2 separate regions of the Homo sapiens genome follow, and region 1 is linked to region 2. Evidence: promoter capture Hi-C in 16 types of primary human blood cells and fetal thymus (Javierre and others, 2016). All regions are on one chromosome and are shown on one strand. Each heading gives the region's core, a stretch centred on a gene start or on the middle of the fragment in contact. The rest is flanking DNA. Distances are from core to core; before and after follow the strand shown.

The links. The method cuts DNA at HindIII sites, captures the fragments that hold promoters and counts their contacts. A CHiCAGO score of 5 or more calls a contact.
Region 1: a fragment that was not itself captured here is called in contact with the fragment with the promoter of KDM3B in region 2 in 1 of 17 cell types (endothelial precursors); the score reaches 5.0 in endothelial precursors.

Annotation. Positions count from the first base shown.
Region 1 is chr5:138,419,572-138,425,368 of GRCh38, reverse strand. KDM3B (lysine demethylase 3B) reads right to left here. Exons shown (of 24, transcript NM_016604.4): 15 at 4,407-4,663; 16 at 1,028-1,294. Among named protein-coding and RNA genes, the nearest start is that of REEP2, 17 kb to the left of the region's middle. The HindIII fragment of the contact is 621 bases long and covers 1,324-1,944 here.
Region 2 is chr5:138,348,848-138,354,479 of GRCh38, reverse strand. It overlaps KDM3B (lysine demethylase 3B), which reads right to left and starts at 1,795. Exons shown (of 24, transcript NM_016604.4): 1 at 1,493-1,795. The coding sequence starts at 1,684. It overlaps FAM53C (family with sequence similarity 53 member C), which reads right to left. Exons shown (of 5, transcript NM_016605.3): 5 at 4,751-5,632. RefSeq lists an enhancer at 856-955 and silencers at 1,206-1,675, 1,756-1,995, 2,016-2,095. The HindIII fragment of the contact is 3,421 bases long and covers 321-3,741 here.

The DNA.
Region 1 (5,797 bases), core at 385-2,884, 71 kb before region 2:
ACTTCCAGCTCTAGGGCTGAGACAGAATAGGAGGGTTTCCTGAGGAGGGCCTCCTCTTCTCCAGGAAGCTCTACTGTTCTTTCCTAGTTGTATAATCCATGGATTTCCACATGTCAACTAAAGTGAAAGGAAATGCTTCTACTCCATTGTTATGCTTCATTCTCACCCTGGGGAAATCACTTCTGTTGCCCTAATACCTACCATTGTTTTAAGGTGAAAGGACAAAAATCTGACAAGTCCAACTTTGAGAACACTTCCTCATATTGAAAATGACAATGCCATGAGCTCCCCTTCCTCAAGCACCTGCTAAAGTTTTTAAACTAGGGAGTGTTATCACACTATCAAAAAACTTGTGTGGCCTTAAAACATTTGCCTAGAAAAGTACTACCTACCTCCAACCCCTTCTCTGCCCCATCTTAAAATCACACTTAAGGATTTTTCTCTAAAGATATCAATGCCAGATCACCACCTAACAGAAATTTCAACTGCCTTTTTAAGAACACAGAACTATACAGCTTAGAAACAAGAGGATGCAAAGTGTGTTTTTAGTAATCTCCTTGCTTTTATTTATTTATTATTTATTTATTTTTGAGGTGGAATCTTGCTCTGTAGCCCAGGCTGGAATGTAGTGGTATGATCTTGGCTCACCGCACCCTCTGCTTCCCGGGTAAAGTGATTCTCCTGCCTCACCCTCTCAAGCAGCTGGGATTACAGGCACCCACCACCATGCCCAGCTAATTTTTTTTGTATTTTTAGTAGAGACAGGATTTCACCATGTTGGCCAAACTCCTGACCTCAGATGATGCGCCTGCCTTGGCCTCCCAAAGTGCTGAGATTACAGGCGTGAGCTATAGTGCCTGGCCATCTCCTTGCTTTTAAAAATCCAAGACAACTCGAAGTAGCAAGGCTATTACAATAACCTCACTATGTCTAAATCTCCCTGGCAAAAAGAGAGACCTGGAATTGTCCAGGTATCTGTGGTAGGCAGGCAGAGAATTGGCCCTTGGAACGACTTATTCTTGCTTACCTGACCTTGCTTCCAACACTCCCGGAAGATCTTCCAATTGTTTTTGTTGCTGGGGTCATGGAGACACAGAAGCCTCCCATCACAAAGCCAGGAGTGAGAAGTATGGGGATCTAGCACATTTAACCCCATCACCATCTCCTTCACTTCCTTCTGGGTATCAGTCAAGTTGCAGGCCCGCTTTGAAGCATCTGAGGTTTTCTTATTTTCTACCACTGAGGCAATGATGTGGTCAAGAAAGTTGGGTAGGCTGGCCTTGCTCTTCACTCCCTGCCAGACACAAATCCACCAGGTAAGCTTGACTGAGGCACCATGAGAACGGCATTCAAAAAACTGTCTCACAATTGTATTCACAAGGAGTTCTGACCTGTCTGATTAAATTCTACAAAAATTATTAAAATGTCTTTTACAACTGGAAGGGGGATAATAAGTCAACATCTTAAATTCTTTTATCCTTCATATTTTACCTTAACATTTAGGAAAGAAAAGTATAGAAAGATCCCTTTTGCCTCGAGAGATCTGAGACCTAAGAAATACCTTTGGCATCAGCCATTCAGTATACAAAGCACACATGCATGTAGACTGTAGGGATCATCAAATGCTGTAACTGAGTGTAAAAAGGTCACTCAGTTTGAGGGTTCTAAATTTTTCCTAACCAGCATGCCCAAGGGATACAATACTTCAATTAAGTAACTGAAGTGACTTATCAAGGCAATGGTTTTCTACCAGGGAGTACCTCAATGAAGGGTGTAGCAGAGTGTCCAAGAGGAAGTACATTCTGAAAGCAGTCTCCTACTCTCCAATTTTTTCCTCACTACCATCCCACTGAGAATCACTCACCTGTTTCAGCTGATGGGAAAGCTCAGGCCCAGAGATGAAAGTGACATACCTAAGGTCACAGAACTGAAGGTAGGGAAGCTTTTATAAACTGGATAATCCTATGCTTACAGTATTACTAATCCCTATCTCTATAAAGTATGTATAATTATGTAACATCATGGGAGAATTAGAAAAAGAACTGGCAGTATGATGAACAAGTATACATAAAACGGTACCCAAAGTAATTGTTTTGTTTGCTTTTTAAAATTTACTTATCCAGGCTGGGCACGGTGGCTCATGCCTGTTAATCCCAGCACTTTGGGAGGCCAAGGCAGGTGGATTACCTGAGGTCAGGAGTTCGAGACCAGCCTGGCCAACATGGTGGCCAACCCTGTCTCTACTAAAAATACAAAAATTATCCCAGTGTGGTGGCACGTGCCTGTAGTCCCAGCTACTTGCTCGGGAGGCTAAGGCAGGAGATTTGCTTGAACCTGGGAAGTGGAGGCTGCAGTGAGCTGAGATCGTGCCACTGCACTCCAGCTTGGGCAACAGAGTGAGACTGTCTCAAAAAAAAAAGTTACTTATCCAAAAGAGAAACAAATAACCCAAATTGTATAGAGGGCTCAGTCACCCACAGTTCATCACGTTTCAGCCATTAGTCATAAAACCCAAGAAGAAATGTATTTATGTATTCGCTTGAAATGATTTGCAGGACATATAAACTAAAAATCAGAATAGCAAGGTGTAGAACATTTAGGGGAAAAACATACATATGATAATATCTCGAGAAACACTGGAGACTTCTAGAAAGGGAAACAGGTGGTTGGGAGGCAAGGGTGCAAAGGAAACTTTTCAGTCGAAACCTTTTTTATTTTATTTATTTTTTTGAGATGGATCTCCCTCTGTCACCCAGGCTGGAGTGCGGTGGTGCGATCTTGGCTCACTGCAACTTCTGCCTCCCAGGTTCAGGCGATTCTCCTGCCTCAACCTCCCGAGTAGCTGGGATTATAAGCATGTGCCATCATGCCTGGCTAATTTTTGTAGTTTTTTAGAAAGAGTCAGGATTTTGCTACGTTGGTCAGGTTAGTCTCGAACTCCTGACCTCAAGTGATCTGTCCGCCTCAGCCTCCCAAAGTGCTGGGATTACAGGTGTGAGCCACTGTGCCCAGCCTCTTTTCTATCTTTTAGATATTGTACCTTATGAATTCATTCATTCAATAAATGCTTACTAAACATGACTGGATCAAACACCATGGCACTAGGGATATATTATAGAACAGTCAAAAATGCCTTTAGGAGAGGCAAGAAACAGAAAATCAAACATGTAATAGGTCAGATGGTAATGAGTGCTGTGAAAAAAACAAAGCAGGGAAAATCGGTATGTGCAGAACTGACAGTGTGATGGAATTTTAAAAAGGGTGATGTATGAAGAAAGGGTTACTGAAGGTTTAGGTGAGGGAGCTGATGATGAAGCAAGTGAGGTAGTTACATGGGAAAGAAATTCTAGGTGGAGGAAATAACAAGTGCAAAGGCCCTGAAGAGGGAGCATGCCAGGCCATGTTCAAAGAACAGCAAGAAGGTGGGTGTGGCTGGAACGGAGTGAACAGAACAGAGAGTGGTAGTTGAAGACAGGGAGGTGAGAGCAAGATGAACAGATAGGGCTATGGCCTCATAGTCCAGGTGCGTGACTCTACTCATCTGTAAGCACTACAAGGACTCTGCTCATCTTACGAGAGAAAAAGGAAGCCCTTGAAGGATTTCAGGCAGAGGTTAAGATATGATCTGACTTATATTTTATTATTTTTCTCCTTTTCTTTTATTTTTCTTTATTTCTTAATAAAAAGCCTCCCATGGGATGACATATTTTAAAAGAACCTCTCTAGCTACTGTGTTGAAAATACACTGTAGACTGTAAAGGGCAGAAACAAGGGGACCTGTAAGGAATTTATTGCAAAAACTTAGGCAAGATGTTGGCTCAGAACAGAGGAAGCAACAGAGCTGATGAAAAATGAGTGGATTCTGAATATAGTTTGAAGATCAAATTTGAAAGGATTTGCTAACAAATTAGATATGAAAGGTAAGACAGGCGAGTCCCAAATGATTCTAAGATTTCTGGTGCAAGCAATCACAAGGGCAGAGATGCCACCAACCAGTAGGGGAAAACTAAGGAGAAGCAAGCTTATGGTCAGAAGATCAGGAGTTCAGGCTTAGGCGCATTAAAGGTTTGAGACATCTATTAGATATCCAAGAGAATACAATACAAATGTACTGTCCAGGTTAAAAAAAAATTAATGCCTGCTATTATCAAGAAAAACAAGCAATCAATGTATTAACTTTTCTGCTGATGACCGAAACATTTCAAAATCTCAACTTTTACAGACTTCCTAACATGGTACAAAAGGTTCACTACTTAAAAAGATTCCCAAAACTTTAAAGAGAGACCTTGTCAGCTTGACAATGTAGAGAACACAAATCACCCATGTACCCTCTAACCCAATTATCTGATCTCTGATGGTTCTTTCATGGAAAAGCTGAAAAGGCTACAGTTGCAGAGGACACTTACTGCTGAGGATGTAGAGAAGACCGGGGGAAAGGGTATGCCTGTGTCCAAGGGGGTTTGAGGAAGTTTTCCCGGCCCGGAGTGAAGGAGGTCTCGAAGGCTAGACCCTTCGGTTTTGTTGTTGGAGGCAGTGGGACCCAGCAACAGACTGTTAAAAAGCTTTGGAGTCAGCGGAGAGACCTTTGCAGTGGAGTTGAACGAGTCCAGCCCAAAGGGTGAATGAGACTCTTTATTGAGCACCGACCTCAGGGACCCTGCTTCTGTAAGAACATAACCAGGAACAGCATTAGGTACAAAAAGGAATAATCAGCACACAACTGACTCCTAAAAATCAGTCACATGGGAAGGAGGAAAGATTCTCTCCTTTCCCTTGCACCCCCCAAACTGTGTATGGTTTGTTTGGGTCAAGCCTTACAAGCTATAATTATAGGAGGTCTCACAGCCAAGGAGAAACTCTCCTACTACTTCTTTACCAGATCTGAATTTCAAACTCCCTTTTGTTGTCATCCATCTTTCATCTCCCTCACTTCCTAAGACAGTGTTTCAAGTGTATCTTCAGGATACCTGTACTGAAGTCACTTGGAGTGCTTGTTAAAAATGGAGATCTTTACCCCCAGAGATTCTGATTTCATAGTTCTGGGCGGGACACAGGAATCTGCATTTTTAACCATTCCCCAGATGATTCTTGTGCCCAGTGAAAACTTCTGCTCTAAGTCTAGCTCTCAACCCTGGCTGCATAACAGAACCATCTCAGAAGCTTGTTAAAAGTCTTGTATATGGCTGGGAATGGTGGCTCACGCCTATAATCCCAGCACTTTGGGAGGCCGAGGCAGGTGTATCACTTGAGGTCGGGAGTTTGAGACCAGCCTGACCAACATGGAGAAACCTCGTCTCTATTAAAAATACAAAAAAATTAGCTGGGCGTGGTGGCACATGCCTGTAATCCCAGCTACTTGGGAGGCTGAGGCAGGAGAATCACTTGAACCTGGGAGACGGAGGTTGCAGTGAGCCAAGATCGCGCCACTGCACTCCAGCCGGAACTCCAGGCAACAAGAGCAAAACTCCGTCTCAAAACAAACAAACAAAAAAAACCCCTTGTATAAATTCTGACTAGAGATCCAGGGTAGGGCCCAGGCATCTGCCTTTTTAGAGAAGTTCCACTTCTAGAAAGAAGTTGAAAGGTAGTCCCTCATATATATGTGTGTGTGTGTGTGTGTGTGTGTGTGTGTGTGTGTGTATGTGTGTGTATATATATGTGTGTGTGTATATATATATGTATATATATATATATATATATTTTTTTTTTTTTTTTTGAGACAGAGTCTTGCTGTTACCCAGGCTGGAGTGCAGTGGCATGATCTTGGCTCACTGCAGGCTGTGCCCCCCAGGTTCAT
Region 2 (5,632 bases), core at 546-3,045:
CCTTCGGTCAAAGTATGCATATAATAGTGGATCTTAAGTATGTTTTGCCTCCAAGGTGGTAGAATGAATCTGAAATGGACACTTCTTTTCCCATCCCAGCCATCTTTTAAAGAAAGCGCAGAGGAATAGAGATCCAAATCCCAGTCTTAATCATCATTCCATCCCCTTAAATTTTTAGTATCTTTTTGCAAATTTGCCCCACTGAGGCCTTATAAATGTCCTAGTAACGTTTCTTATACAGCATGAAGAAAAATCAAAGCAAATGAACCCAAGTAGCAGAAGCAAAGCCTAAGCCATCCACAAAAAAAATCCATAAAGCTTGTATATTAGTGAAAAAGGACAGTCTAACACCGTTGATCAATAGGAAGAAAAATGAACATCGGAAGCCTACAACATTACTTCCAAATCTCACAAACTGCGTTCCCGTTTATATCTGCAAAAGCAAGTTCATCAAGAAAATTTACTTTCTGCTTGCTGATCTATTACATTCCAAAAGACCACCCCCTGCCCCAACACGCACACACACCATTTTTCATAGCCTTATCTCACCAGAGAAGCTAGGGCCCCTATCAAAATGAGGAAATAAAGTGGCTTGCCAAAACTCAAACACTATATTTTACCGCCACATTAACGAGAATAACACATCATGATCCCGAATGCTAGTTAAGTTGTATGACTGAACAACTTTAATCACAAAACACACCAAGGCATTCAAAAAGGGCCAAGCCCAAACACAAAGTTTCAAAACAAAACCTCTCCCAAGGTTGGGGGAGTAGCTGAGCTGGGAGCAAAAAGCACTACCCAGCAGCCCCGTTCGGCCACTAAGAAAGATCTCAAACTTAACAAAAACAGCCACAACTGCAGCTCCTGTCACCCAGAAGCGTTAAGGAAAGGAGAGGAGAGCTCGAGACAGTGCCGAGAGCTGGCCTTTCTGGAGACCGCCAGGCCGAGCCCAGCTCAGATGAGGAAGTAACTGCCAGATAAAAAAGCCCCGACCAGCTCCAACTGCAGCCTCCGTGCCTCCCATAACTGCCCACATTCCCGCCCCACTTGGGGCTCTGGGAGAAAAGGAACAGGGCGCAGGTCTCCTGGGAGAGGCTGGGGACCACAGGTCCGCGTCTTCGAGAGGGCAGCGGCAACACTGGCCGAACTCTGAGGCTCCCGGGAGCTCAAGATTCGAGAGCCTGCTCCGAAGGCGTGTTGGGGGGAACGCCGAGAAAAGGGTCGCCCAGGAGGCGGGGCCTGCTGGCTGCAAGCAGCAGCTCCGGACGCCCTGGCCGCCCCCCGGGGGAAACCGGGGCGCACACCCCGACGCGGAAGCCATGCCGGCAAGCGCTCGGGGTGCGGAGGTGCCGGCGGGGGGCGCTAAGGAGACCCGGGGGCACGGAAATGGGTCACCCCCATCCCACCGCCCCCTCACAAAGGCCCCCGGGGAGGCCGCCCGCAGGCCCCGCAGCCCCGGCCTCGAGTGCCCGACTCGGCCGCCACTCACCGCTAGGTCCTGGGGCACCGCCCCGCTCATGGCCCGCACCGTGCCGGCCCGCCAGGCTCGAGTGCGCAGCGCAGGCCCCGGATCTCCGCTCGCCGCTGCCGCCGCGGGAGCCGAGGCCGAGGCTGAGGCCGCAGTGTCCGCGAACAGCAGCAGCAGCCGCTTGCCCACCGGGGAGGCCGCCGCGTCCGCCATCGCCGGGGCCGGCCTGACCCGCGCTCCCGCCCGCCGCCTCCCACCACCTCCGCCGCCAAGCGCCCGATCCGCCCGCAAGGCCTCCCTCCGCACCACCCGCGGCCGCCGTTCCCCCCCACCCCCCCCAACAGCCACCACCAACCACCGGCGCAGCGCAGCGCCCCCCGTGGCCGGGAGCGGAGCCGCAGCCTGGGCCCCGCACAGCGCCCCCCGCGCTCTGGAGCGGGGCGACAGCTCCTGGCCCCTCGCAGCGCTCCGCCCCAATCTCCCCGGGGCCTGCAGTGCCCCCTGCGGTCTGGAGGGGAATTGCAGGTCCGGCCGGGGTAGGGAAGTGGGCGGGTCCTTCAGCTTCCCCATGGCATCATCCCTGGTCTCAATCTTCCTTCAGGGAGTCGTATATATGAGAGGGCTTTAGCTTGCTCTCCTCGGATACCAAAGACATTTACGGGGTAAGGGGGTGAGGGGCAAGGTACCTAGAGAGTGGATGTTTTGAGCTATTTAGTGTCTCCAATACCCCCATTGATTTCCTATCCTGAAAATATGAGCTCCTACCTGCTGTCTTGTAGGAAATGTTCTCCCCATTGGTCCATGAGACACAATGTCTTCCTTCTCAATGGCCCATAACAGCACCATCCCATTCTATACTGCCAGCACTTCTTAGGTTCCTTTCCAATTGGCCAATGTATTACTTCCATTGGATGTATAATGCCACTCTTTCCACTGACTGAAGGCCAACGTGCCCCCCAACATCTTGGTGTTTTTCCTAAAACCGACCTAACTTCTTCCCCTTCCTAGTCTGCCAATGTTATTAAGTCTACGTGTTTCTCCATTCAACTCTTAGGGGAACTGGAAATAGACCAACAGTAAAGGGGTTCTCTTAGTAGCACTCCATCTTACCATGGAATTAGTGGGGCTGGGGGCAAAGAAAATTCTGTAACTCTTATCTGAATGCATTTAATACAGGTGTGGGAGACTGATAGCTCCTGATTAGAAAAGGAGCCTGCAGAGAAAGTGAGATGCTGAGATTTTTGGCTAGATTGTTACCCACAATAAGCAACAGGAAATTGCCTCAATCATTTAAAGCTGGCAATATCAGGGACTAGCACATTCCATGGTCTCATGGATGCAGAGACTGAGTATACACAAAATGGATACAAAAGATAAAGGGTATAGTAATAACCCATGACTGTTGTTCTAAAAGTGACTTTTTGATTTTCCCTACAGACAGGAAATAGTGGTAGCTGGTTCTTTCTCCAAGGCTTCTGTGCCTACCCCAGCTATCTCCTGTCCATAACCTTGTCTACACCCTTGACCTACTTTTCTTGTAACAAAGGCTTGGGGAGAGGGGTAACCAACTATTGACTTTATACTTTTACTAAAGTATAAAACATATAGGAAAATCATTCTAGAACCAACCCTGTGGAGCACCAAGGAAACATTCCTCCCTCCACTTCTTTTTAACTTCCATCTCCCACAGCCAACCTGAGGCCTGACTCAGAATGTTTTTCTGGGCTGAGAGCCACCTCTTAAAGCACATGGCCCATAAGCTGTAGTTGGTAGGAGGGGAACAAGGGTGAATCCATACAAGATCTATCTGCCTTGCAATTTTTCTATCAAAATTATCTGCTGGGATTTTCTCCCATACAGAGATTTAACTACTGCCCCAATGTCCAAGGCTAGTTTCTCACAGCAGAGAGACAGAAATGTACCTAAGTTCACGGATGGGAAAGGCAAAAGGGAAATGCATTCAACAAATGTGACCAGCACTTTTCATGTGCCAGGAACTTCCCAAAGTGTTGGGGACACAATATTGAATAAAACAAAACTCTTGCCCTCATGGAGTTTACGTTCTTTCCTATATTAACAAGACTTCAGGAATGAAAAATAAAATCACACTTGGCCTCACAGAAAATAGCAGAAAAATCCAACAAAAATAAACTCAAAAGAAAAAAAGGGGGAAACAAAGTCATTTTAGATGTTCAAACTTTACCCCTGCTCAAGCAGTAGGTGAAATGAAACATCAGTTTTAAAGAAAAAAAACCCTGTAATTCTAAGCTTCTTTAACCACATGCCACTGCCCACCACTTCCCCAAAGCCCTTCCTTTGTTTCCAGGGCAGGTGACAACCCTCACTTTTTCTAGGGTGTATGTGCACCCCTGCAAAGATTCCTGCTCCAGGTAGTCAAGTCAGTCCTGTCCTGCACACACTTCATTGGTATTCAATGATGAGTGCCACCAATTTGAAGCAGGAAACCAGGACATAAGCTAAGCAACTTGACTCTTCTTGCTGCCTGGCAAATTAGCACCACAACTGGTAAAGAAAGGCTAAGCCTTAGAGACAGAGGCTCCTGCCTGGATCTCTAAGCAACTACACTTCACCCACACACATTGGAAGAATGTCAACATAGAGAGAAGAAAGGGTGGAACAGAAAGGTCTAAAGAGTGAGCCACATAGCTTCTTTTGGCAAACCAACACTCCCAAAGGAAACATTAGGGAAAATACTGTCTTCTACAACAAAAGAGAAGCTTTGCAGCTAGGATTATTTTCCAAAAGCAGTATTTTTAGGATGGAAAAATTGCCTAGGTCTATGGAATCTGAATTCTGATGACTAAACCTCTATCTCTCCAGGATGTAACATGTGAAAACTTAAGAAAGATCCCTGGCTGTCTCCCACCCTGCCTTCTCCCTACTTCCCAAAGCCTACAAACCAATCTAGACAAGTTCCTGACTGTACCATAAACCATTTCTCAGGGAGCTGGAATGCATTCATACTTGACTTCAACTTGCTGGAAGTGAGAGTGACAGCAGGCAGGAGGAGACAAGTATAACTGCCAGGGAAAGAGAGACCAAACCAGACTGCCAAAAATAACCAAGGCCTTAGCAGAAGCCTGGGCCACAGTATAACATCCTGCCATGGCCGGCAAAGGGCCTAGGGTCCAAATACTGCCCCTTTTTGAAAGGTTGACCCACATCTTAGATGAAGGGGCTGGAACAGTTAGGTGGCCTTCTACCCTGCTTCTTCCTTGTCTTTGTGGGGAAGGGAAGAAGACACTGTAGTACACAAGGTTGCTTGGGAAAATGGATTATTCTAATAAAACTTTATTTTTTCAAACACAGCCACAGAGGCAGAACCTCATGTTTAACACACACAGACTTATGGATTTTTCTTTTAATATAAAACAAAGTTTACGAAAATTTTTTTCCACTTTTTGTATTTGTAATCCCATTAGCACAGGGACTTTGGCAGCAGGTGGGAGTGAAGGGCAGCTGAGCTGCCACTGGGCAGTCACTGGGCACAGGAGGAGAGCACCAGCCTGGGGAGTGGCTTCACTCACACACACAGGGATACTCACCTACTGGCCAACCACACTACACACACAGCACAGATGCAGACATTGACCCAGTGTCAGCCACATGCCCTGGAGGTGTGCTCCACTCTGGGTAAGCCCAATATGTGAAAATTCAAATAGTCAAAACAGCTAAAGTGGAGGGAGGTTGCTTGCTTTACAAAAAGAAGCAATCATAGGCTGCTTTTAAATGGTCAGCAGTCCAAATGCATTGAAAAATAGCATTTGGTTTACACAGAACTGTTGGAACAGATCTACTGTGTAAAGCAAAATGAACCAATTCTTGAAAAGTGTTCCAGGGCCACAGGTTCTTAGATTGGGAAGCAAGATGACAGTTCTGACTAGCTTAGTTTTCCAGACTGAAAGTAATGGAATTAAAATAATGATAACTGTAGACCTTCTCCCCTAAGGATGGTGCCCTGGGGCTTTGGGGAAACCAGGATGGAGGCAGAATCACTGCCTCACTTCTTCAGCTTAGGGCCTACAGAAACTCACTGGCATTGCCAGTAACCTGTTGGAAGCTGGCACAGCCAATCTACAGCAGAGAGCCCTGGGATGAGGATGCCCCAGGAGGAAAAGAAATTGGCACCAGGGAAATTAT